2 separate regions of the Homo sapiens genome follow, and region 2 is linked to region 1. Evidence: promoter capture Hi-C in 16 types of primary human blood cells and fetal thymus (Javierre and others, 2016). All regions are on one chromosome and are shown on one strand. Each heading gives the region's core, a stretch centred on a gene start or on the middle of the fragment in contact. The rest is flanking DNA. Distances are from core to core; before and after follow the strand shown. Region 1 holds the start of FNIP2 (folliculin interacting protein 2). Region 2 overlaps CTSO (cathepsin O).

The links. The method cuts DNA at HindIII sites, captures the fragments that hold promoters and counts their contacts. A CHiCAGO score of 5 or more calls a contact.
Region 2: a contact is called between a fragment that was not itself captured here and the fragment with the promoter of FNIP2 in region 1, in 1 of 17 cell types (non-activated CD4 T cells). The highest score is 5.9, in non-activated CD4 T cells.

What each region holds. Positions count from the first base shown.
Region 1 is chr4:158,767,615-158,770,640 of GRCh38, forward strand. It overlaps FNIP2 (folliculin interacting protein 2), which reads left to right and starts at 1,412. Exons shown (of 17, transcript NM_020840.3): 1 at 1,412-1,705. The coding sequence starts at 1,599. RefSeq lists a silencer at 1,153-1,362 and an enhancer at 1,320-2,057. The HindIII fragment of the contact is 6,862 bases long and covers 1-3,026 here.
Region 2 is chr4:155,945,347-155,948,372 of GRCh38, forward strand. All of the region lies in intron 1 of CTSO (cathepsin O), which reads right to left. Among named protein-coding and RNA genes, the nearest start is that of CTSO, 7.0 kb to the right of the region's middle. The HindIII fragment of the contact is 6,081 bases long and covers 1-3,026 here.

The DNA.
Region 1 (3,026 bases), core at 162-2,661:
GCAAATTAGGGTTCTGTGTACACTCAATTGTGCAAAAGGATGATTGCTCATCAGGATAAACACTTAATCCACCATTTTAACAGTAAAAGTCCGAAGGAAACAAATGACTAAGTTTCCATTTCTACCACCTTTCTCTTACCTTTGTGAAATTTCAGCACATTATTCACAGCTAGTTCCCAACCAAGTCCAGAAACTAACACAATTAAAAAAAGAAAATGCAAAGTAAAATAGGCCCAGAATAGGTTCTTTTGATTACTTATGTTTTTGGAAATATATTTTCCTTTTTGAGTCTCCAAGAGTCCTCCTCTCAACAAGTGTAAGAGAGCCCAGGTGAGTCACTGTTCACTACTCATGGAGAAGCTAGAAGAGGCATGGTTGGGGTCTTACTAACTTTATCTCTATTTCCCATCATCGGAAAAATTCGTGAAGCCCAACGCTCTAAAACATAGATTAAGAAGTTGCTTTGAGTCTGGTAACGTGTCCTACACTGGCTGTTTAGAGCCCTGCACCACCAAGGATTAAATTCCAAAGGGGACTGGGGTGGGACAGGGCAGGAAAGCGGACTCAAACACATGAACTCCTCCCTTCCTCAAACCAAATATCTGCTGCTGATATGCCTTGATTGACTGTTAAATATGTATTAGGAAAAACAATCCCTTGCTATAAAATATCTTAAGTTTCTAAATCTATGTAGTGAGTTCTGTGTGTGTGTGTGTGTGTGTGTGTGTGTGTGTGTGTGTATGTTTTAAAGGGGGGACTTAATATTTCAAATGCAACTTCTTATATAACCATGGTATGGTGGCCCAAGACGCCAAACAGAACAAATGATTTGGATAAACAGTTTAAATTTTGTGAAAGCCTGGAGGAATCGAATTTGGACATGGAGGAAACCTGACAAAACCTTGGGTGCTATGTGATTCAAATCACAGCCCACCGAAGCGGCCACCGCGCGTACCAAGCCTTCCCCCCTAGCATACGCCTTCTGTGAACGGGCTCTTGTACCTGAACAAAGCGAGGACCCAAGTTCAGGGGCTTTGTCTCTAAAGAACAAAGATCGGCCTAGCTGCATGCTCGCTGTGCGAAAGAACCCAGGCTCCGTGGGAACCCCACGCCACTCGCGGAGCTGCGCCCCGGCGGCCGCCCTCGCCCCTCGGGCCCCTTTAAGTGCCGCGCCTGCCCCCGTCCGCGTCCCCCGCGTGCCCGGAGTACTGGGCCGCCCGCCCGCTCCTGGCCGCACCTCCCACCTCCCGCCTCCCGCCGGGGTTACGTGAGCCCGGGGCGGGCGGCCGCCGGGCCAATGGCCGCCGCCGGGGCCGCCGCGCTCCTCCCGCGCCGCCGCCGCCGCCGTGGGGCTGCGGGCTCCTCCCGCAGGAGATAACTGTCAGCGCGCGAGGCGGTGGCGGGCCGGCTCAGTCATATGACCGGCAGCCGGCGGCTCCGGCGCCGAGCAGAGTTACTCAGTCGCAGCGGCCCCGCGCTCCCGCAAGGCTGGGCGGCCGCGCCGCCGCGATGGCCCCGCCACCGCGGCCGCCGCCCCCGGCTGCGCGCTGAGCCGCCGGCCCCCCGAGCGCCACGGCCGGAGCTGCGGCGGCGGCATCATGGCCCCGACCCTGCTCCAGAAGCTCTTCAACAAAAGGGGCAGCAGCGGCAGCTCCGCGGCGGCGTCTGCCCAGGGCAGGGCTCCTAAGGAAGGACCCGCCTTTAGGTGAGGGGGCGCCGGGGGGCAATTCTGGCGCGGGACCCGAGTTGGCTTCGGTGCTCGCCGGGGAGGGGACGGGTAGGGGAAAGGGAAGGGACTGTCCAGGACGGCGCTGCCTATCGCCGGCACCTGGTCCCGGGCTTGTCAGCGTGGACGCGCCTGATCCGAGTGTGGCTCCGGACCCTCCGTGACCCTTCCTCCCGCTCTTTCTCCACAACTCAGGGTCCTTCCCCATTTCAGAGTTCTCTTGTGTTCCTTGGGGTTCCCGGGCGTGCGCTGTGCTTGGCTGTGGCGACCGGAGATTCTCCGGTTATTGGGGTGAACCCCTTCCGGGCAGAGCCGCCTGGGCACCTCTGCGGGCCCAGCAAAGCTGTGAGCTGTCATTTTGAGGGCAGCTCCAACCTATTGTGTACGTGACAGTGTTTTGAAGTTCTGAAGGAGCAACAGTCACGAAAAAGGCATCTTTCTTCTTTCTTGCCATATATGACAAGCTCTCAAACGGATGAATGAAAGTATGTAATTTCCACATCATGTGGAAGGTTGATGCCGCATGATGTGTGGAAAGGGGGAGTAAGATGCAATTATGAAATTTCCGAGATTTCAATTGATCAAAGCTGATATGTATATTTAATAGATTTGATCTCTCGAACACATACCTTTGAATATTGATAGCATTTATGGAGAGCTTACTACCTAAAATGCTTTATGTTGATTTCTGTCGTTTACTTTTCTGACAATGCGGTGAGGTGGGTGCTATTATAATTCCCATTTTACAGGTGAGGAAACTTAAAGTCACAGATAACTTAGGCGGCTTGCCCAAAATCCAGCTGTCAGTGGTAGAGCCTGTGTTTTGACCCAAGCAGTTTGACCACAGATTCCAGTCTTTAAAATCCCTATGCTATTCTGATTTCAAGGGCTAACTTTTAAAAGACGCCTTAAAATGTCCTATATTGCCTTTGAGCACAGGTATGTTGAGAAGTTTATTTAACAATTTTTCAACACATTTTAAAATTGAGCACCAACTCCCAATTCTGACACTATGCTAGGTGCTTTTTGGCCAAAATGTCTTGCAAAAACAGTTCACTGTTAAACAGATCTAGACCCAGTATAATAAACCTTTAAAAGTTTCAAGTGAAACTTTGAAATAAATTCTGGATTAAGTTTTATGTTCTAGATTTTGCTTTTCTTGAATTCCATCATTTAAAACAGTCTCTCACTGTGGTCATGTGAAAATTAAACGTGTGTGTGTGTGTGCACGCGCGCTCATGGAAGGCATATTGTGAGGACCTTAAACTCCCCAAGTTAAATTCTCATGTTTTCTTTAGGC
Region 2 (3,026 bases), core at 362-2,861, 2.8 Mb before region 1:
GATTACAGATGCTTCAGGCATTAGAAGAATAATATTTTGACAACTTTATGACAATAAATTGGCAAACTGTACAAAATGGACAAACTTTTTGCAAGGCACAGATTGCCAAAGATGAAAGGAGAAATAGAAAACTTGAGCAGCCTTTTATCAGCTAAAGGCATTAAATTTGTAAGTGAAAACTGACTCACAAAGAAAACTTCAGGCCCAGGTGGCTTTTTGGTGAACTTTATACAATGAAGAAAGAAGTAATACCAATATTATCCTTTGAGAAAATCAAGAAGAAGGGAATACGCTGCAACTTAAATAAGACCAGTGTTACCCTGATTCTAAACCAGAAAAATGTATCTAAATAAAATAGAACTACATACCAGTATCCCTCATAAATACGCTGTAGACACAAAATCCTTAACAAAATAGCAAATCAAATCTAACAATATATGTTAAGGACAATATATTGTGACCAAGTGAAGTTTATTTAGAAATGCTAGGTTGGTTTAAAATTTCAAAATCAATCATCAGTACGATACACCATATTAACAGAACAAAAAAGGAATATACCACACACACACCACACCACACCAAATGCGCACACACACACATACGCACGCACATGAGGTATAGACTGGTACGCCCTTTCAAGATCCTTAAAATTACACAAATTGTTTAATTAAGAAAATCTAATTCTAGGAATGGATTTTAGACTCTTGAGTGTAGGCAATGCTGTACGTGTGGGTTCTACACGTGTGTCTGGGAGGGGAGGCAGTAGTTGAGCCACATACTCTATTTAGTTGGAGAGCTAATGCAAGTTTATCTCACTAGATCATTTGTGACATCTACGAGAGAAACAATATATTGCCACTCAAGTTGGCAAATGCCAGATGAAACAAACTTATACATCGTTGGCAGGGAGTTCCCATGTACTTCTCTTAATTTTTGTGTTGCCTTATAAGTGTCATTTCACCATCCAAAGTTTAGGTGTTCCGGTTGTGAAGTAGTTATAATAACACCAATTTAATAATGAAATAAATGAATGTATTATTTATTTATTTTAAATATTTATGTCCCTAATTTTCAATGATGATTCCAATAACAGTTACTTGGTTTTGGTCTTGTGCCATGTGTTTGAAAAGACAAATATCTCCACATATATTTTCTATTTGTTACCACTTGATACACTGTTCTTTATGTCAGCGGCACTAGTGTCTGCAGGACTTCTGAAAATGTTGCTGTCTTCCACTTGTTCAACCAGGAGCCAACTTCTAAAAGAATTCCATTTGCTATTCTGGTGTAATGACTCCTGTCATTTCACAGCTCTCCATAGCCCATGTCAGGGCTACTCAATCTTTATACAAATTGTTGACTTCCTGCCAACAGCAAAATACTCTAAACCACTAAGTGCTCTGCTTCGTCCTCTCCCTACCACTAATCTCTACCCACTTGTTTTGATTTTGCAAAACCATTAATAACATTAAAAGTACTTCCTTGGAGGCTTCTGAACACAGCGTAATAATAATAATTATTATTATTTTGAGGCGGATTCTCGCTCTGTCGCCCAGGCGAGTGCAGTGGCGTGATCTCAGCTCACTGCAAGCTCCGCCTCCCGGGTTCACCCCATTCTCCTGCCTCAGCCTCCCGAGTAGCTGGGACTACGGGCACCCGCCACAATGCCCGGCTAATTTTTTTTGTATTTTTTTTAGTAGAGATGAGGTTTCACCGTGTTAGCCAGGATGGTCTCAATCTCCTGACCTCGTGGTCTGCCCGCCTCAGCCTCTCAGAGTGCTGGGATCACAGGCATGAGCCACTGCGCCTGGCCTCTTTTTAACTTTGCAACAATTTGAAATGTCTTACCATTGCTGTGCAATTTTTGGCTATATAATCAACCTCTCTGAGCTTTATTTCCATCAACAAATGGAGTAATACTGATCTGGAAGAATGTAAGGATGAAATAAAATAATAATTGGAAAACACTTATTACAGAGACTGGCAAAATAAATGCTCAGTTAAAATACTCTCATCCTCTATCTTCCTTTTCCTTTAAACAGAGTATTTGGATTATAGAAATGGCGCTCAAAGACCATACTTTCAGATTCACTTGGAGCAAGTATTTCTCATGTCATTAGAAATGAGGATCAATATTATCTATTGAAAGCAATCTGTTGCTTTCATGGTAAAATAATACTATCAGTATATCCAAGAATATCTATTCTCTTATTTATTTATTGTCTTGTTTGCTATACACTTATCAAGTTCACTAACATGGGTTTCACATCATTTAAAATTTAAAAAGCCCTGTATTTCATTTCTTGAATTATCAATTCTTTTAAGTGACTTTTCCGGTCTCTCTTGATTCTGGCTATTAAAGATTTCATAGACGCATCACAAACTGAAGTCTGTATGAGGCCCTTGCTGCTCATTACATCCAACAACCTCCGTTAGGTAAAGGATCAGTGGGCACATGTTCTCAACAGAGGATATGATAGGGAGCAAATTTAGAGTAGCCATCTCTAAAGTCATATAAAATATTAAAGAAAAGACCTGAACCTTAACTTCATTTATGAGAGGAAAGACGTAAAGTTTTGATGAATACATAGGAAACTTCTCATTGATACTTTTGAAAAGTGCAGATGTTTAAAAATTAGATCTTACATGAGAAAAATTAGAGCTGATAAATCAGAACAGCCTTGGTGAACAGATTTGGTGAAAAATAACTACCTTCACCTTTTTTTTGTTGTTGTTGTTAAATGTGTTTAATTGAATGAGTTACAAAGGGAGATACCAGATTCCTGAACAGAAGGGTAACTCAGAACCCAAGAGATTGAAGAAATTATCCTGATTATAAAACTAGGAAAAACATGTCCCTTGGGCATTAGTACGTCTTGTGCATACTAAGTCTCTATTTATTATAGGTATAACCTCTCAAATTCATACCTAGGACCCTGTCCCTGTAAGACTCTGTCCCTAAAGCTATCCTTATTATGACTTCTAGCAGCCATCCTTCTAAGAGGTAGAATCTCTTAAAGCTGCCT